7 separate regions of the Homo sapiens genome follow, and regions 1, 2, 3, 4, 5 and 7 are each linked to region 6. The links are contacts of gene promoters, found by promoter capture Hi-C in blood cells and fetal thymus (Javierre and others, 2016). All regions are on one chromosome and are shown on one strand. The core of a region is centred on a gene start or on the middle of the fragment in contact, and the rest is flanking DNA. Distances in the headings are between cores, read along the strand shown.

Region 1 (2,733 bases), core at 212-2,711, 420 kb after region 6:
GCTTAATAGGAAATAACAAATAGAAGGCTGTCTGAGCTCTAGCGTGTGGGAGGAAGTCTGTTTGATTTATTCAAAGGTACACAGTCAAAGATCTATCAACTCCTTCCTAGAGATATCTAGGATATAGGACATTCCTTTAAAAAAAGTCATAATCAGAATTTCCTATCTACAAATGTACTTTTTCACCCCACGATGCTACATCAACTACATTCTTTATCAATCTCATTTCATGACTAAGGTTACCCTGCATAATGGACACTTGGACATAGAATAAGAAATACACTTTTTTTTTTTCTTAGAGGCAAGGTCTCACTCTGTCACCCGGGCTGGAGTGCAATGGCGTGATCATGGCTCACTGAAGCCTCGACCTCCCACAGTCAAGCCATCCTCCCACTTCAGCCTCCTGAGTAGCTGGGACCACACACGTCCACCACCACATCTGGCTAATTTTTTTATTATATGTAGAGACGAGGTCTTGCTATGTTGGCCAGGCTGGTCTCGGACTCCTGGGCTCAAGCGATCCTCCTGCCTCGGCCTCCCAAAGTGCTGGGATTAGAGGCAGGAGCCACTGCACCGGGCCAGGAATGCACATTTTTACTAAAGGTCTTCCCCTTTATTCTTTATAGCCATAGGCCTTATGGCCAGAATTGGACTCTCCAATTTTAAGCAGGTTACAGAAACTAGCTTCTAAATGTTGGGGGCTCAATATGAAATGCAATCATTTTGTCATTAGAGTGGTTGCTAATAAACAGACCAAACCCTGATGAAAAAGTAACAGGTGTACGTGTCTGTGCAATTTCTGGGCTTTCTTCTAATTATTATTAATTGCAGAAGTCCCTGGGCTCTTTGGTCCTGGTATCGAAGACGCAGTAATTGAAACCATTCTTTGTGCCACTGCTGATGGAAGAGAGAATGTTGGGAAAGGAAGCTAGAAATGACATATCGTCTCAAGAAGGGAAATAGGATGGAAGGTACGTGCTTTAACTGTCAAGTACTCAGGTCCTCTGAGGCTGTGAAGGACCTAAGTGCAAAGTTATGGGAGGAGATTCCAAGTCAGGTCAGATCCTAATAATGTCCTAACTTGGCTCCTAATGCAGTAGCAGAGGACACTCAGAGTAAACAGGTGACAGGATGAAAACACGATTAACAAAACAAGAGTAAAGAGGCCTAATAGGGCCTGAGGAAAAAACTGAAGTTTGTTTTAAAGTCCCCAGTGCTCACGGGCATCTAGTGACGGGATACCCACCCACACCCAAGCTTCCAGGGTGCTGGAAACCCCACTCCCCTCCGGAAGGCCGCTGTCGACTTACCTTCCGCTTGTTGTGATGAGCGATATAGAGGACAGCCACAAGAATGGCTGCAGTCACCAGATATGCAAAGAAGTGGCTGCTCTCCGCGCTGCCATTTCCAGAACCGTTCGGATAAAGGTCATCCTTCTCGCTACCCGTGGAATCCGAAAGTGTCCCTTCACGGTTCTCACTGGAGGCAGAACCGGACATCTTTTCTTTCTCTTCTTTGGGCGGTGAGCCCTCCTCGGGTCCTGTATCATCATCTTCAGCCTCTTTGGGCTCCACATCCTCAGTAGGCTCTGAAGACTTAACTTCCTCCTGCGGGGGAGAAATGAGGTCAGTTTCCTCCCCAGATTCGGTTTTGAAAGCATGAGGAGAAAGCTTCCCTTTGTCAGCAAGCTGGTTTGTGTCAGCCTTGGGGAGCTCCTTGTTATCAGAAGGGTTGGAGATGGGCTTGGAATGGTCTTTCCGGGAAGGCTGCTCTGGAACCACCTTGTTAGGGCTGTCTTTTGAGGTCTGCTCCTCCGCACCCGACTTGCTGGGCCCGTCTATTGGGCCCTGCTCCTCTGCACCGGACTTGTTAGAGCCGTCTTTTGGAGTCTGCTTCTCCGCACCCGACTTGTTAGGGACGTCTTTTGGGGTCTGATCCTCCGCACCCGACTTGCTGGAGCCGTCTTTTGGGGTCTGGCCGTCCGCACCCGACTTATTAGGGACATCTTTTGTGGTCTGCGCCTCCGAACCTGACTTGCTAGGGCTGTCTTTTTGGGTCTTTGCCTCCGCACCCGACCTGTTGGGGCTGTCTTCTGGGGTCTGCGCCTCCGCACCCGATTTGCCAGTGCTGTCTTTTGGAGTCTGCAGCTCCGGATGCGACTTACTAGTGCTGTCTTTTGTGGTCTGCGCCTCCGAACCCGACTTGCTAGTGCTGCCTTTTTGGGTCTTTGCCTCCGCACCCGACTTGTTGGAGCTGTCTTTTTGGGTCTTTGCCTCCGCACCCGACTTGTTGGGGGTGTCTTCTGGGGTCTGCGCCTCCGCACTCGACTTGCTAGGGCTGTCTTTTGGAGTCTGCGGCTCCGGATGCGACTTGGTAGAGCCTCCAGGCCGTTGGCTCAAGCTGGGGTGGGTGGAGACGTTTCCTGCAGAAGGCCGTACTCCAGCTTCTTCTTGCTTGACGCTTTCGGTGGCCAAGAGCGGCACGGCTCCTGAAATAGAAAAACGAGTTAGCACCGGAGAAGGGCAGGCGGGAAGAAGGAACTCCTCAGAACTGGAAGAGATCGGGAGCAGCGGGGGAATGGGGATTGGGGGGTGGGGCGGGAGACGATGGCGAGCGGAGAGGTGGGTCGGGTAGGGAAGAAGCGAGCCTAGAGGTGACCTGCCCAGGTGAGAATGGGGGATCTGGGGGCAAGAGTGGGATGCGGGATGGAGGGTCTTACCCGCCGCTGCGACG
Region 2 (2,700 bases), core at 33-2,532, 400 kb after region 6:
AATCATCCCTGTGTCTCCAAAGCACATGTATCGCCAGGGCTGTTCCTCAGCCTCCTCCTCTCACAGAGCTATAGCTGCTCACTCTTTCTTGTATTTTCCCCCTAGGTGCCCTGGCCTCCAAGAGCAAGAAGCCATGTGTTCAGTACCTGCCCCCCGAGAAGCCCTGTGACAGCCCTGCCTCCTCCCACGGGAGCATGCTGGACTCCCCGGCCACTCCCTCTGCAGCTTTGGCCTCACCAGCTGCCCCTGCTGCCACCCATTCGGAGCAAGCCCAGCCCCTCTCCCTCACCACCAAACCAGAAACCCGGGCCCAGCTGGCTCTCCACTCTGCCGCCTTCCTGTCGGCTAAGGCTGCAGCCTCCTCCTCTGGGCAGATGGGCAGCCAGCCTCCCCTCCTGTCCCGGCCCCTCCCCCTTGGGTCCATGCCCACAGCTCTGCTGGCCTCTCCCCCGTCCTTCCCCGCCACGCTCCATGCCCACCAGGCCCTCCCGGTGCTACAGGCCCAGCCTCTTTCCCTGGTCACCAAGTCTGCCCACTAAGCTCCCCCCGACCCCTGCAGGCTGTCACATGACTCATTGAGTAGTAATGATTCAGAAGAAAAAGAAAAAGGAGACTTTATTGGTCAATATTTGACCACTCTGGACTGTTCTGTAAAGTGGCTGGTAACAACAGCACTTTACAGTTTGTAGATGTAACCAGTAGCTGATCTTAAGGCTTTTTTAAAAAACAAAACAAAACAACAAAAAAAAATCTTTATAAGAAAGAGAACTGAAAAGTAGCGTGCTATTCGTCCTGTAGGTGCTGTGGTGGATGGACCTGGGCAGAGGGCACTTCTCTCTCTTACCTCTCTTGCACTTTCTGTCTCCTGTCTCTTCTCGCCCCTGCCGCCTGCCCCAGCTTCCCCGACTCCATCTGCAGCTCTGCCATTGTGACATTTCCTGTTACCCAGCCCAAGTTTTCATCGTCTGCTCAATACCGTGGGTTCTTCTTCGTCCTCTGTCCTCTGCCCAGTGTGAGGCCATCACCATGTGAGAAGACATCTTGGCCTGATTTGCTGCCACCAGCGTCCCCTCCCTCAGTGGGCCCGAACTCGCCAGCCCCAGCTTTCAGTGGAGAAAGCGGTCCTCTGAAATGGTTTCCTCCCAACCCCCGCATTTAAAGGGACTCAAGGTGCCTGCCACTTCCTCAGCGAAGAAGTCTGTGTTCCTCCCCGTCCTTGCCAGTGGCGATCATCCCTTCACAATCCCAGAGTGGCAGGCGGGACCGGCCCCATGGTCTGGCTCCTGTCACCTGGGTCCGTGCCAGCACAATCTGCCAAAGTTCTAGAGACCCTGTTCCCTTCCCCATCACCTCACATGCTTCTTCTGTGTGTATTTCTTTTTGTTTTTATGGTTTTTGGAGCAATTTAAACTCCCAGTTGTTTATTTTCACAAAAGAAAATAAAATTGCAGTTGCAAGACCTTTTCTGAGTGTTTCTTTAGTGCTTTTGTTGAATCAAACCACCTGTTTGTTTCACTCCCAAACCCTGTGTTAGACTTTCGCAGATATGCAAAGGAAGATTGCCACTTGCCACAGGGGAATGTTAGGCATGCCTGACACCCTTAGAAAACCTGAACCCAGCTTCCTGTCTCAAATGTGCATGGGCCAGTCAGTGTCCATGACTGAGCTGCAAAGGGGGTAATCATTTTCACAGCTGATTTAAATGAATTTGCCGCCTGGAATGACATTCAGCTTATGCTTCTATCACCCATTTGACTCGTAATTGCCAAGATGTGAGGAAGCATCTTTTGGATACTTTCCATAGTATCTAGCACCACAATTAATTTTTTGTAACAGCTTTATGGAGATATACTTCAGCCATTTAAAGTTACACTTCACCCATTTAAAGTATACAGTTCAGCTGGGCAGAGCCGCTCTTGCCTATAATCCCAATGCTTTGAGAGGCTGAGGCAGGAAGATGACTTGAGGCCAGGAGTTCAGGACTAGCCTGGGCAACATAGCAAGACCTGATCTCTTTAAAAAAAAAAAAAAAAGCAACTAGCTGGGGATGGTGGCACACAAGCCTGTAGTCCCAGCTTCTCAGGAGGCTGAGGCAGGAGGATTGCTTGAGCTCAGGAGCTCAAGACTGCAGTGAGTTATGATTGTGCCACTGCATTCCAGCCTTCTCAACAGAGTAAGACTCTGCCTCAAACAAAAAAGGTATACAATTCAGGCTGGGTGCGATGGCTCACACCTGTAATCCTAGCACTTTGGGAGGCCGAGGCGGGTGGATCACCTGAGGTCAGGAGTTCGAGACCAGCCTGGCCAACATGGCGAAACCCCGTCTCTACTAAAAATACAAAAATTAGCCAGGCATGATGGTGCGCACCTGTAATCCCAGCTACTTGGGAGGCTGAGACAGGAGAATCGCTTAAACCCGGGAGGTGGAGGTTGCAGTGAGCCGAGACAGCGCCATTGCACTCCAGCCTGGGCAACAGAGCAAAACTTCATCTCAGAAAAGAAAAAAAAGTAGACAATTCATTGGCTGTATGTTCAGAGTTGTGCACCTATCACCAGTCAATTTTAGAAAGTTTTTGTCAGTCCCAAAGGAAGCCCCATATCCTTTGAAAATCACTCCACATTTTGCCCATCTCCCCCAGCCCTAGGCAACCACTAATCTACTTTCTGTCTCCAAACTTGTCTATTCTAGACATTTCATAT
Region 3 (2,700 bases), core at 201-2,700, 440 kb before region 6:
ATTGCAAAGACAAACTTAAAAACAATTGATAAGACTAGAATCTAATAATTCCAATTTTTACTAAAGACAAAGCATGATAAGACCAATTTGTTTTATTATACTTGGCCTGATTATTTGTATAAAGTACAGCAAGAATAATTATTTTTCATGTAAGCTCTTTTTAAGTTGGCTTTGATGGAACTCTCTTCCATAGAACAATCTCAGATAAGACTTTTTTAAAGCCGAGCCCTGCCATAGGTTTTTATCCTCAAATACCTATGAGTTGGGTAAATTTCTCTCCTTTTGAGGTCCCAAGGTAACCTGGGGCTCCTGGACCTGTGAGAACGTGGCATTCTTTACCTACCGTTATTTACTTAACTTCTTTACTTACAGGCCAGAAACCCTGTACAGGGATTGTGTAGGCAAGGTATGAGGCCAGTTCCCCAAAGGGCTTTTATTGGCTCTACAAGTCAAGTTTGATTCCTTAAAGGAAAGCACACCATTCCAGTCAAAGCCTTGGTAAAATAATCAATTTCTCCAATTGTGTCCTGTTACAAAAGAAAACAGATTCTTATTGCACTTATGCAAATAACTATATTGCTATAAATTAAGAATACTCTCAGTTTCCAAATTTTGGAGAAATCAGGTAGAGAGAAACAAATATGCTGCAAATTTTGTTCACAGTAGCTTACTCTACTCAATTGCTAAAACCTGTAAATAGCTCAAAAAAAAGTTTCCTCGATTCTGAAAAACAAAACAAAGGATCAGCAATATTTTAAGCAAAGTTAAAAAGATTAGGCTTCTTCAGCTTAGTTCATGTAGTTAACTTCTGTTTAATAGTTATGAACATTATAGCTCTCTATGAGAGTTCTGAAAATGTTTTCCTCTATTCTGATGTCACAGTCTCCACTTATCAGAAAACCTGCATTTAAGAATACCAGTTAGAGTTCTATAATTGATTATAAACCAACTTCTAAAGAGGATTAAAACAAGGTAACAATCATTTGTGGATGACAAAACGTCTTAGGATAGCCACAGTTAAAAACATGATTGACAAAGAAATTTGGTTACCTCTGTGGCATACAATAATTCAAAACAACAATTATAATCATTACTGATAATGTACACTAAGTCATATCAAAATTATAGGAGTTTCCCATAGTTTTGGAACACATATACCAATAACACATTTATAGAAATACAGCCCAAAGAAAACCAAACACCGTTTTTACAAATTTTTGTTAAAGAGCAGATCATAAGCAGGTTTTTGCTCTAAGAAAAACCTGGTTTGCATTTATTCCAATGTTCAGTTTACAGAAAAACTGAATACCCCTTTAACTTTAGCCAGTGTGTTCACGCAGAATCTCTTTTACAATTAATGTTTCACAAAACTTTTACAACTTGCTTAAACCTTCAGATTTATCCTAACTTAAAACAATCCTTTAATCCTTTAATCTAGGCAAGAAAAATCCACATTCCCATGCCTTCTTACAATCTTTTTTTTACCATAAACACATTTTACTTTTCTTACACATCTTGCATATAAAACTGTTTCTTCAAGAGTCTCAATTACATGTTACAGTGTTAACGCTTAGCAACTTTTATTTTTGATGAAAACCTTGACAAGTTCAAGATTTTAATTATGTGCCAGGTGTGGAGCCTAGCCTAGGAGACAACAGGCAGAAGTGCAGATAAGAGCTGACTCCAGCATAGCTAGGAGGCTAACTCCACATGTCCCAAGGCCGTACCTTACTTAAGCAAGCAAGTTGTAGAGTGAGAGTCATAGTGGCATTTTATGAGGCATTTAGGAGGTCTAACAACCTTTGAATTGTACAACATTTCTTGCATAAACCCTTTCATGGCTTACACAGACCATCTGAGACATTCTTGGACTTTCTGACTTGCCCTAAACATCCCTCCTTTTAAACAACCAGTCATTTTACTTTAGGACAAGAATTTAACATATGAGATCCTTTCTTATATAAAATCTCTCTATTTATAATCTTTGTGTAGCTAGGGGACATGGCTAATTCCACATGTCCCCAGGCCTTATCTAGAATCTAATGGCTTTAAGGTAGGTAAATTGAACAATTTTTAAAAGTTAAAGAGGTGGTTTATGACCTTAAAGCATTTAGCAAACTTAATCTGACCTGCATAATTTAGACTAAATGTTTTTCTTTTATCAATAATTTTTAATAAATTGAACACTTTTTAAAAGTTAAAGAGGTGGTTTATATGACCTTAAAGCATTTAGCAAACTTAATATCTGACCTACATAATTTAGACTAAATGTTTTTATTTTATCAATAGTTTTTAAAGCTGTTTTTATTTCCCAAAGATTACTAAAGTTACCTGAAGTAAAAAGCGTTAGTTTTTATTTAACTTTCAAAATATTTGATTTAAGTGCTTATTTTTATTTAAGGCAATTAATTAGAGTTTTTTTATATAAACATTACACACAACACATATATAGCTACACACAAAGACAGAAGAAGATTACTACAGTAGTTGTAAGATTTTTCATTTGCCGGTTTTTAAGTTTCTTAATTGGATTACTAGCTTTAGGGTGGAGCCCTTGGAAGAACAGGGCCAGGAAAGGGTCTGTGGTGCCTCCTGTTTACCCCAAGGAGTCCAGGCTGTTAGAGCTTGAATATCTGTTTTTAACTAAACTGATTTTAACCATAGCACTCTTTAATAAAGCCCTTTTAGAATTTCTTATGC
Region 4 (2,700 bases), core at 70-2,569, 420 kb before region 6:
GAGCAGCCCTTGTAGACACTTGCCAAATAATGCTGCCTGTGAATAGGGGCCTAAAGTCTGCCCGTAATGAAGCACAGCTTGAATTTCACAAATATTTGGGCCCACTGGTGGAAGAAGCCAGAGAGCAAGGGCAGGCCCCTTTCCAGGTCAGCGGGAGACCTGAGGTCAGCACTTAAAACCTGTTACTGAATTGCTGATTATACTCTTTGGACCTGGTACCAAGTCCCTGTCTATGGGGATAACTGTGTAGAGAGAAAAGTACATTCCTGGGGACAAACAACCTAATCTAGGACATCCTGACACAGTGGGATATTTGTACATGTCAAAGCTGTCTTTTAAAAGAGATCCTGTCTTGTCAACTGACACACTCTTAGGATTCCAGTCTACTTTTGTACTCAGTTTGAGGAATATAAATTGAGTACTCTGTTTTTAGGCATTAAAAAAACATCCTAAGAAAATAATTCATCCATGCTTACAAAGATGTGCAAGGGAAAATAAGAACTGGTCTAGATGCCCAACGATGGGAATACTAGGTAGGTATGTTAGTTTTCTACAGTGGGAGTAACAAATTACCACAAAGGTAATGTTGTTTAAAACAACACAAATTTATTCTCTTACTGTTCTGGAGGTCAGAAATCTAAAAGTTAGTGGGTGCAGTGCACCAGCATGGCACATGTATACATATGTAACTAACCTGCACAATGTGCACATGTACCCTAAAACTTAAAGTATAATAAAAAAAATTAAAAAATAAAAAAATAAAAAAATTAAAAAAATTAAAAAAAAGAAATCTAAAATTAAGTTAAATCTAAATTAAAGTATTGGCAGTGATGCATCCCTTCTGGAGGCTCTAGGAGTGAATCTTTATTTTTTCCAATTTCTAGAGGCCACCCACATTCCTTGGCTCCTGGCCGCTTCTTTCAGCTTTAAAGTATACCACTCCAACCTCTACTTCCGCCGTCACTTCTTTTTTTAATTTGATCTTCCTGCCTCCTCCCTCTTATGTAGACCCTTATGATTACATTGGGCCCGCCTGAATAATCCAGGATAATCTCCCCATTTCAAGATCCTTACTTTAATCACATCTGGAAAGTCCCTTTTGCCATGTAAGGAGACATATTTACACATTTACACATTCCAGGATGAGGACCTAAACATCTTTAGGAGCTATTATTCTGTCTACCATAGCAGGCATTAAATTAGTGATGTAGGGCCATTACGTCTGATCCAAACTTTATTTGGGGTGAGCTACCTCTAGGTATAGATTGGAGGTGGGAATGTAGATGATGAGTGGCAGGGAGCACAGATAAGCCCTCACCATAAGCTCTCTCCCTCATAATAGCTTTATCAATGATAAAGATGATATAGATTATTTACTTAGCTCCTGTGTCTATTTCTCAAATAGGTCTGAAATCATTCAGGGAAAAGTGGGGTATGTTATTGGCCTCCCTATAACTTCAACAGTGTGCATATGTAAGAGTTTCTTTTTTGCTTTCTTTTTTATCTTTTAAATTTCTTTTTTACTTTCTGGAAGTTATTGGTAGAGAACATGAGAGTGTCTTTAGGGTCAACATCTAATTGAATAATTGCTACCTGGGGCACATTGTAATTCCCATTCCCACTAGAAAATTATGTATTCTTCAATTGTTGAATCAGGGAGGCATCATTATTTCTTGAGAAAGACATAGGAGTCAGAGTGATGCTGAAAAAAATTCATTCCTTATATATGATATACTTTTGAAGTTAAAAGATATGTATCATATCTTTTATGATATGATAAACCTAAACCTACAGATGCAGGTTTAGTAAGTATTGAATGGAGCTTAGGCTTTAGGATCCTTGCTTGGACAAGTTCCTTCCAAGGCCTTCCAAAGGCCCCAAGCGATATCTTCACATACTCACAGGTTTCTACAAATGTATTCTTTCTCTTTCCTTTTTTTCTTTCTTTCTCTATTCTTCTTTCTTTCTCTTAAAGAAGCTCTATAAAATTAGCTCTGCCTTGCACCTCCTTATTCTTAAGGCTGATTAGAGAATATGGTCTGTGAACTTGCTAGAATTCACTCTGAATTGGTTAGACCCACAGTTCACTCCTTGACCTATATTTGTTTAATCTAGAGCAGTGTTCTCAAACTTAGCATGCCTCAGAATCACCCAGAAGACTTGTTAAAAAATGGGTTGTTAGACCTCATCCCCAGAGTTTCTGATTCAGTAGTTCTGAGATGGGGCTGCAAAATTTTCATTTCTAACGAGTTCCCAGGTAATGCTGATACTGCTGCCCAGGGAACACACTTTGAGAACCACTAACATAGAGACTCACTATCAACAGATGCTTGAAATGACACCACTGTTGATGTTTCTGAATCTTGTGTCCCTCAGGCCCCAGTGAAGACCAATACCCCCACCATACACTGTGAATCCCAGAACAAAGCATTTTTTCAGTTTTTTACATTTTTTTAATACTTGGACTTTTTGGCCTGAAGCAGCAGCAGAAATGTTTGTATCTACCACATATTGTTTTCCACAGAAATAGGATATGTCTTTAGTGTTCTACTTTCATGTTATTGCTGAACTTCTTCCAGAAAGTCTTAACGCTTGGTTTTCTTTCTTTCTGACTCTTTCTTTTCTTTCTTCTTTCTTTTCTTTCTCTTTTTCTTTTCTTTTCCACTTTTTCTTGTATAATTTAATGTGCATTCAGTAAAC
Region 5 (2,700 bases), core at 88-2,587, 390 kb before region 6:
ATAGACTGGAGCTGTTCCTATTCCTTGTTTAATGTTTTTATAATGAAAGAGTGATGGATTTTTATCAGATGCTTTTTCCTGCATATATTGAGTTGATCATGCTGTCTTTTTTCCCTCTTCTTCTGTTAATATGATGTATTACATTTATGATTTTTTTATGTTGAAATACTTTTACATTCCTGTGATGAATCATACTTACCCATGGTGTATAATCCTTTGAATATACTGCTGGATTCAGTTTGCTAGTATTTCTGATTTTATTTCATGTGGTCAGAAAAGATATTTTGTATGATTGCAGAATTTTAAAATGTATTGAGACTTGTTTTGTGACCTAACACATGGTCTTTCCCAGAGAATGTTTCATGTGCCCTTGAAAAGAAAGTGTTTTCTGTTTTTTTGGGGGGTGGGACATTTTATAGATGTTTTTCAGGCGTGTTTGTTTTATAGTGTTTCTCAATTATTCTATTTCCTTATTAATCTTTTCTATAGTCCCTTAGTCAATTTGGTGTGACTATAATGGAATACATAACACAGGCTGGATAATTCATAAAGAACAAAGAGTTATTTCTTACAGTTCTGGAGGCTGGGAAGTCCAAAGTTGAGAGGCCAGTGGCATCTGGTAAGGGACCTCATGTTGCATTCCCCCATGATGGAAGATGGAAGGGCAAGAGAATATATGAGAGAACAAGAGAGGGTCCAACTCACTTTTATAACAAGCCTTCTCAATAACTACCCTACTCCCAAGAAAACGACATGAATCCATTCATGAGGTCTCTGCATTACGTCTCCATTTTGACCTAATCACCTCTTATTAGGCCCCACCTCTCAACACTGTTGCATTGAGGATTAATTTTCCAACATATGAACTTCAGGGGACACATTCAAACCATAGCAATGGTTTTTCTATCATTACTGAAAGCTAGAATCTTCAACTGCTGTTGTTGAATTGTCTATTTCTCCCTTCGATTCTGTTGGTTATTACTTCATATGTTTTGGGACTGTGTTTTTAGGTGAACATATGTTTTAATTGTTCTAGCTTCTTGATGGATTGACTCTTTTCATAACCTTTATCTCTCATCACAATTTTTGTCTTAAAGTCTATTTTGTTTAATATTAGCATAGCCACTGCCACTTTCTTTTGCTTACAGTATGCATGAAATATCTTTTTTCCTTTATTTTAACCTATCCTGTTTTTGAATCTAAAGTATGTCTCTTATAGACAATGTGTATTTGAGTCATGTTTTTTATTCATTCTGCCTTTTAACTGATAGGTTTAATCAATTTCCATTTAATGTAATTACTGATGAGGAAGGACTTACTTTTGACATTTTGTATTTGTTTTCTATATGTTATTTTTCAATTCTTTCACTATTGCCTTCTTTTGTATGAGGTAGATTTTTTTAAGTGTACCATTTTGGTTCACTTTTTATCTATTTTTTTTTAGTTATTTTCTTAGTGGTTGCCCTGTGATTACAATTAACATCTTAATTTATAATTAATTAAGTTTTTCTTCCTGTAAGTGGACCATACTTTCTTTGTTTGCATGTCTCATACTTTTGGTTGAAAATTGGATATTGGATATGTTGAATATTATAATATGGTAACTCGGGAAATCAGATTCTCCTGCCTTCTAAGAATTTGTTGTTTCTGCCTGTTGTAGGTTGTATTTGTTTGTTGCTGACTTTTGTAAACTATTATTTAAAGACTGTATGCTTTGTCACATGTGGTTACTGAAATCTCTAAAGTCACTGAAGTCTTACAACTTTTGTGGAAGGATGGACTTTTAGAGTTCCTTACTCTACCATTTTTGCTAATGTTATTCCCATAATTACTTTTAAATTTTATATTGTCATTATCCTTGAACATTTCATAAATATTTTATGTATTCTATATTTAAGAGTTCTAATATATAATGTGTTTGCCTTTTAAGTCTTGTTTATTCTGCTAACTCTTGTTTGGAGTGGCTTGTTTTCTTGTATGCTTGGGTTTTTTTTAATTGTAAATTTATATTTGGCTGAAACTAACTTGTGAGAATTCTAAGGACTCAGAGTTGATGATGCCTTTCTCTTCATGGGTATTTCCTAGTAGCTTGCATTTTTTTCCCCAGACCACATAGGTAGTGTAAATGAAAAACCCAGAACTAGTTTTGTCTATACTCCTAAATTCCTGGGGGAGACTATTATATTTTTAACAATTTTTTCCCACCTGGATCTACAGGTAGAAATATGCTGGTTTTCCTGTAGGTTTTTGTCACTGCCAGTTTTTTCCTAGTCCAACCTATTACTGAGGGGATAATTCTTCCAACAGTCTCAGATGTGTGTGGCAACTGTAGTTTGCTCTTCCATTTTGTGTAGACTCAAGCAAGGCCTAGTCTTCCATTTCTCCTCAGCATTAATCCCTGAAGCTATATGTTCTTTGTATAGGCATTTGTACCCACAGCACCCACAGCTTCCATGTTATTTATTGCTCTGGTTTCATCTGATTATTATTTTGACACTTGAGGATTCCCTTATTTCTGTGAGCCCTGCTATACTCCACTATATATCCAGAAGCAGAATTCTATGATTCAATAATCTTGGGCTCAAATTCATATAGAAATTTAAGTTGATGGATCTGGATTTGTATCTCAGCTCTGCCACTTACTACCTCTGAAGTGACTTGGGAAAGTCACACAACCTCTTTAAGCCTCAATTTCCTATC
Region 6 (2,734 bases), core at 40-2,539:
CTAGTGGTGGTGCACGCCCGCAGTCCCAACTGCTCAGGAGGCTGAGGTGGAAGAATCACTTGAACCGGGGAAGTCCAGGCTGCCATAAGCCGTGATCACACCACTGCACTCCAGCCTGGGTGACAGAGTGAGACCCTGTCTCAAAAAAAGTAAATAAATAAAATCAGGACCGAATTTAGGATGTCACCACCAAATCCCACTTTAAAGAGCTCGGTAATACTTCACACTTAAAAAAGGAAAGGTCAGGACAAATAAAAGAATGACCAGCCTTAACTCCGGGGCTGGTAATTTATGGAACTTATTACCTAACGGTGTTGCACAGGCTGAAAATACAACTTTTCTAAGAAAGATGTGAATAATTGCAGTATACCACTCCTACAATGGGTTAATAAGAAAAACAAGAACGTTTGTAGGCATGTGGGTCTCTATTATCCTCAAGGTTAACTTCAAGGAGGAAAACCGCACCCGCTGATACAGTGTTTCTAGGAGCTCGACGAGAAAAGGCAAACTGCGAGCCTTCTCGGGACGCCCTGTTCCCACCACAGCCCTTCACACAATGCGTCTAACAGCATTTAAGGAACACCCGCCACGCCAACGATCCTGCTGGAACCGCCCAGTTCAGGGAACAGGGGACGACTGACCAGAAGGCAACCGCCCCCAACCTGAGCAAAGAGCGCTGGAAACCTATTCCCCCCTCCCCCTACACCCCCCCGCCCCCCGCTCCACTACGGGACCCTCGGCTCGAATTCTTTTAGTGCAGGACCACCTTAGGACTCAGCCTCCCTAAGGAGAGGAAAAGTGGGGGAGGGAAGGGGACTCTGGAGGAGCAAAAGCAAGAGGCCTGGGGGCGACTGGGGTGGGGCGTCTCCTAGAGCGAGGATTGCTGCAGAGTGCGCGTGCACGCCCGCACATCCACACCCACGGCTACACATCATATCTGCACACGCACAAAACCACACACCCTCCCACGCCGGTCCCATATCCTTTCTGCGGGGTGAGCAGCAGATTCCCGGAAAGGGGGAAATGTAGCCGCAAAAGCAAAGCCGGGGGCCTGGCGCCCACTCTGGCGGCGACTACAGCCCCCACGCTGGGCACACTGCGAGCTGGGGGTGCCCGGCGCGGGAGAAGCCGCGCCCAGCCGGGCTGGTAGCCCAGCGGGGGGCGCGGCAGGGCGAGGAGCAGCCCGCGCTGCTCCCGCCCCTCGGGTGCCAGCACCGCCCCTGCTGCGGCGGGTGAGGGGCGGGGCGGGGCGCGGCGTATATAAGGCTAGGGGCGGGCGCCGCTCTTTTGTTTCTTGCTGCAGCAACGCGAGTGGGAGCACCAGGATCTCGGGCTCGGAACGAGACTGCACGGTGAGTGCGGCGCCGGGGCGGGGGGCCCACCCAGGGTGTGGTCGGATCCGGTGCACCGGGCGGGCGCGCCGCAACCGCGACAGGCGCCCTTCTCGGACCGGACGCAGGGGCCGGCGACCACGCCCTGGGACCGAGAAGAGGGGTGCGGGACGCGCCCAGATCCTCGGCCTTGGGGCTGCTCGGCACGCCTTGGCGCGAGTGCCACGTCGAGAGGCGTCGGCGGGGAGCGCGGAAGGGGACGCTGGCCCCCAGGCCCAGGTCAAGCGCCTTGGTTTGCCCACTAGGATTGTTTTAAGAAAATGGCAGACAAACCAGACATGGGGGAAATCGCCAGCTTCGATAAGGCCAAGCTGAAGAAAACGGAGACGCAGGAGAAGAACACCCTGCCGACCAAAGAGAGTGAGTGTGCCTCGGTCTCCCGCGCCCCAGCCCAGCCCCTCACCCTGCTCTTCCTTGCAAACCCACTCCTCCACCCCCCACCCCGCCGTTGTCCCCGGTGTGGGCGGCCCCGGCCACTCTTTCAGTTTCACAAAGCGCCTTGTTTCTCCCCAGCCCCAAGCTTCCTTCTAAATCCCCACACCTCGTGGGTGCCTCGCCCACACCGGGAAGCACCTCGGTTGCGGGTGGGGGTTGCAGCTCCCCTCCAGCGCCCGCTTCCCGCTCTCCACAGCCATTGAGCAGGAGAAGCGGAGTGAAATTTCCTAAGATCCTGGAGGATTTCCTACCCCCGTCCTCTTCGAGACCCCAGTCGTGATGTGGAGGAAGAGCCACCTGCAAGATGGACACGAGCCACAAGCTGCACTGTGAACCTGGGCACTCCGCGCCGATGCCACCGGCCTGTGGGTCTCTGAAGGGACCCCCCCCCAATCGGACTGCCAAATTCTCCGGTTTGCCCCGGGATATTATAGAAAATTATTTGTATGAATAATGAAAATAAAACACACCTCGTGGCATGGCTGGCGTGGTCTGAGTCTTTTAGTTGAGTATGCGTGGGCAGTGCCACTGCAGCAAAGCCCCTCGATGGAGTAGAGTTCCTGCCGCAAAGGGGAGGAGGTGGGTCGCAGAATGGGCTGACTCGGAGGGAGTTTTTAATTTTGGCTTTACCTGCTTCTCCGTAAGATTTCATGACTTGTTAGCCACTTAACTCTTGCTCGTAAGCAATCTGTGTAAAATTTAACCCCACTTTGTCCCCAGGTTGCGTTGGAAAATGCTTTTTCAAAAGAGCAAGGTTTGCTTTTGATAAGCTTCGAAAGCCCCACTGTTTCCCTCTGGCCTCCTCCTAGCTGACTCAGAAGGGAACACTGATTTTAAAGAAAGAAAAGACAATCTGGAATGTTGGAAATTGGGTGAGGTCACAAAGTCTCCGGAAGCCTTTCTTCGGG
Region 7 (2,700 bases), core at 130-2,629, 460 kb before region 6:
GCACAGTGCCTACTGCATAGTCCCCACTCAGGAAGAATTAAGGGGTGGTTGCTGACATTTGTACTACTAACATACTGGAAGAAGAAAGGTAAGGAAAGCGTAAAAAGCCCAACAGAAGCCTGGCCACAGTACTTCCTCCCTTAATAGCTGATTCATACCTAGAAACAAAAATAACACACTGGTTTTGATGGCAATTCAAATTTCTCTAGGTTACTGAATTTTCAAATAGCAAGTGACTCTACCAAAAAAACATAATTAAGATCTCTACCCAAAGAATGCTCGCTCTTCCCTTGCTTTTCTTGTCTTGCCAAACTCAGGTACCACTAATTACCTCCTTCACAGTATTAAAGACAGGTAAGCCCAGATGTGTCTGGCCTCCTTTCCCTGGAGTGGTTCCTCCAACGAGTTTGGTGCCATATTCCAATGCCTGCTGGCTGTGAAAGGTGCCCTGAGGGGAAAAAGCACAAGATCCATGAGAAACAGCAGACTGGTAAGCCCAAGAGAAGCAAAAGCAATCTTAGCAACTTAGGAAAAGAAAAACAAATAGGTTAACTATTCCCAGACAATAACATATATTTACTAAACATAGCTTTGAATCTTGAAGCAAAACAAGCCTCTGAAAAGCCAAAATAGCTATAAACAAGGCCTCTTTGATTCCCTGTTTTCAAACTTGGCTGATAACCAGAAACTCCCTGTTTCTCAACTCCTCATGTGCTCACACTCCTCAGTTTAAAATTCATGGTAGATCATTACCCTCCCACAACAATCTTGGCTTTCTCTCACTTCAACTTAAATATCTGGCAAAACCACAACCTGGGTCAAATCCAATTTTTCCCCTACTTCTAAGCCTATACATGTGCAGCCAAAAAGTGGCTAAGGGAAAAAAAAACAAAAAAACATGTCAACTGGTCTCATTTTAAATTAATGATCACTCACCTTAAGTAAGCCTTCAATACTGCCCACCCACCAACCTGTATTTCTCTATCCATTCACTTTTCCTCCTCAACCTCAGCATTATTGACATTTTGGACAGGATGATTCTTTCTTATGAGAGGTCATCCAGTGCCTAGTGGGACATTTAGCAGCATCCATGGGCTCCACTCATTAGATGCCAGTAGCACACCCTCCTAACTCTCATAATTCCATCCAGTTAATGACAACCAAAAACAGCTCCAAGGACTGATTCATTTTCACTAGGCTTCTGGGGCTTGACTTCCCCTGGTTTTCCTCTTCTCTTTCTCTCTCCTTAGTATTGGGGGAAATTCAGCCAGATATTGGGCAAAATTCACCCCCGATATTTCACTTAGGTTCTTTTCCATATTCCCTAAGTGTCAGCTGGTCTGAGAAATAAAGGGACAGAGTACAAAAGAGAGAAATTTTAAAGCTGGGTGTCCGGGGAAGACATCACATGTCGGCAGGTTCCATGATGCCCCCTAAGCCGTAAAACCAGCAAGTTTTTATTAGTGATTTTCAAAAGGGGAGGGAGTGTACAAATAGGGTGTGGGTCACAGAGATCATGTGCTTCACAAGGTAATAGAATATCACAAGGCAAATGGAGGCAGGGTGAGATCACAGGACCACAGGACCACAGGACCGGGGCGAAATTAAAATTGCTAATGAAGTTTCCAGCACGCATTGCATTGATAATATCTTATCAGGAGACAGGCTTTGAGAGCAGACAACCGGTCTGACCAAAAATTATTAGGCGGGAATTTTCTCATCCTAATAAGCCTGGGAGCACTACGGGAGACTGGGGCTTATTTCATCCCTACAGCTGCAACCACAAAAGATGGCCGCCCCCCGAAGTGGCCATTTTAGAGGCCTACCCTCAGGGATGCATTCTCTTTCTCAGGGATGTTCCTTGCTGAGAAAAAGAATTCAGAGATATTTCTCCCATTTGCTTTTGAAAAAATATGGCTCTGTTCCGCCCGGCTCACCGGTGGTCAGAGTTTAAGGTTATCTCTCTTGTTCCCTGAACATTGCTGTTATCCTGTTCCTTTTTCATGGTGCCCAGATTTCATATTGTTCAAACACACATGCTCTACAAACAATTTGTGCAGTTAATGCAATCATCACAGGGTCCTGAGGCGACATACATCCTCCTCAGCTCACAAAGATGATGGGACTAAGAGATTAAAGTAAAGACAGGCATAGGAAATCACAAGGATATTGATTGGGGAAGTGATAAGTGTCCATGAAATCATCACAATTTATGTTCAGAGATTGCAGTAAAGACAGGCGTAAGAAATTATAAAAGTATTAATTTGGGGAACTAATAAATGTCTATGAAATCTTCACAATTTATGTTCTTCTGCCGTGGCTTCAGCCGGTCCCTCCGTTCAGGGTTCCTGACTTCCCGCAACACCTTAGACTTCTCTTTTTCATCTAAATTCATGCCCTTGGTGATGTCATCCCTTATCATGGCAATACATATCATCCATATGGTGACCCCTCCCACATACACAAAGACACATACACCCCACATATCTAAGCCTTGAACTCCATATTCACATTGTCAACTGCCTACCTGACACCTCCACTTTGAGAACTAGCAGGCATCTCAAACTCAACATGTCCAAAACTGAGTTCCCAATCACTCCCCTCCATCTACCCCATCTCAGTTAAAGACAACTTCACGCCTTACAGATAATCAGACCAAAAATACTGAAGCCATCCTTGATTATTCTCTTTCTCATATGT

The links. The method cuts DNA at HindIII sites, captures the fragments that hold promoters and counts their contacts. A CHiCAGO score of 5 or more calls a contact.
Region 1: a contact is called between a fragment that was not itself captured here and the fragment with the promoter of TMSB10 in region 6, in 4 of 17 cell types (M0 macrophages, fetal thymus, total B cells and 1 more). The highest score is 9.1, in M0 macrophages.
Region 2: a contact is called between a fragment that was not itself captured here and the fragment with the promoter of TMSB10 in region 6, in 1 of 17 cell types (M0 macrophages). The highest score is 5.8, in M0 macrophages.
Region 3: a fragment that was not itself captured here is called in contact with the fragment with the promoter of TMSB10 in region 6 in 5 of 17 cell types (M2 macrophages, total B cells, non-activated CD4 T cells and 2 more); the score reaches 6.7 in M2 macrophages.
Region 4: a fragment that was not itself captured here is called in contact with the fragment with the promoter of TMSB10 in region 6 in 8 of 17 cell types (non-activated CD4 T cells, naive CD8 T cells, naive B cells and 5 more); the score reaches 11.4 in non-activated CD4 T cells.
Region 5: a contact is called between a fragment that was not itself captured here and the fragment with the promoter of TMSB10 in region 6, in 8 of 17 cell types (naive CD4 T cells, non-activated CD4 T cells, naive CD8 T cells and 5 more). The highest score is 11.7, in naive CD4 T cells.
Region 7: a fragment that was not itself captured here is called in contact with the fragment with the promoter of TMSB10 in region 6 in 1 of 17 cell types (M1 macrophages); the score reaches 5.9 in M1 macrophages.

What each region holds. Positions count from the first base shown.
Region 1 is chr2:85,325,198-85,327,930 of GRCh38, forward strand. It overlaps TGOLN2 (trans-golgi network protein 2), which reads right to left. Exons shown (of 4, transcript NM_006464.4): 1 at 2,720-2,733; 2 at 1,311-2,488. Among named protein-coding and RNA genes, the nearest start is that of TGOLN2, 1.4 kb to the right of the region's middle. RefSeq lists enhancers at 1,395-1,564, 1,805-1,984. The HindIII fragment of the contact is 413 bases long and covers 1,256-1,668 here.
Region 2 is chr2:85,308,924-85,311,623 of GRCh38, forward strand. TCF7L1 (transcription factor 7 like 1) reads left to right here. Exons shown (of 12, transcript NM_031283.3): 12 at 106-1,464. The coding sequence ends at 539. Among named protein-coding and RNA genes, the nearest start is that of TGOLN2, 18 kb to the right of the region's middle. RefSeq lists an enhancer at 713-1,596. The HindIII fragment of the contact is 9,071 bases long and covers 1-2,700 here.
Region 3 is chr2:84,465,808-84,468,507 of GRCh38, forward strand. It overlaps a transcript of DNAH6 not described here. Among named protein-coding and RNA genes, the nearest start is that of SUCLG1, 7.9 kb to the left of the region's middle. The HindIII fragment of the contact is 3,272 bases long and covers 1-2,700 here.
Region 4 is chr2:84,487,642-84,490,341 of GRCh38, forward strand. It overlaps a transcript of DNAH6 not described here. Among named protein-coding and RNA genes, the nearest start is that of DNAH6, 28 kb to the right of the region's middle. The HindIII fragment of the contact is 5,264 bases long and covers 1-2,700 here.
Region 5 is chr2:84,511,678-84,514,377 of GRCh38, forward strand. It overlaps a transcript of DNAH6 not described here. Among named protein-coding and RNA genes, the nearest start is that of DNAH6, 3.5 kb to the right of the region's middle. The HindIII fragment of the contact is 3,512 bases long and covers 1-2,700 here.
Region 6 is chr2:84,904,367-84,907,100 of GRCh38, forward strand. It overlaps TMSB10 (thymosin beta 10), which reads left to right and starts at 1,290. Exons shown (of 3, transcript NM_021103.4): 1 at 1,290-1,352; 2 at 1,637-1,751; 3 at 2,023-2,305. The coding sequence starts at 1,652. The coding sequence ends at 2,057. LOC105374836 (a long non-coding RNA gene) reads right to left here and starts at 2,655. Exons shown (of 2, transcript XR_940308.3): 1 at 2,297-2,655. RefSeq lists a silencer at 1,047-1,586 and enhancers at 1,553-2,734, 2,557-2,616. The HindIII fragment of the contact is 2,703 bases long and covers 1-1,909 here.
Region 7 is chr2:84,442,953-84,445,652 of GRCh38, forward strand. It overlaps SUCLG1 (succinate-CoA ligase GDP/ADP-forming subunit alpha), which reads right to left. Exons shown (of 9, transcript NM_003849.4): 3 at 332-448. Among named protein-coding and RNA genes, the nearest start is that of SUCLG1, 15 kb to the right of the region's middle. The HindIII fragment of the contact is 5,313 bases long and covers 1-2,700 here.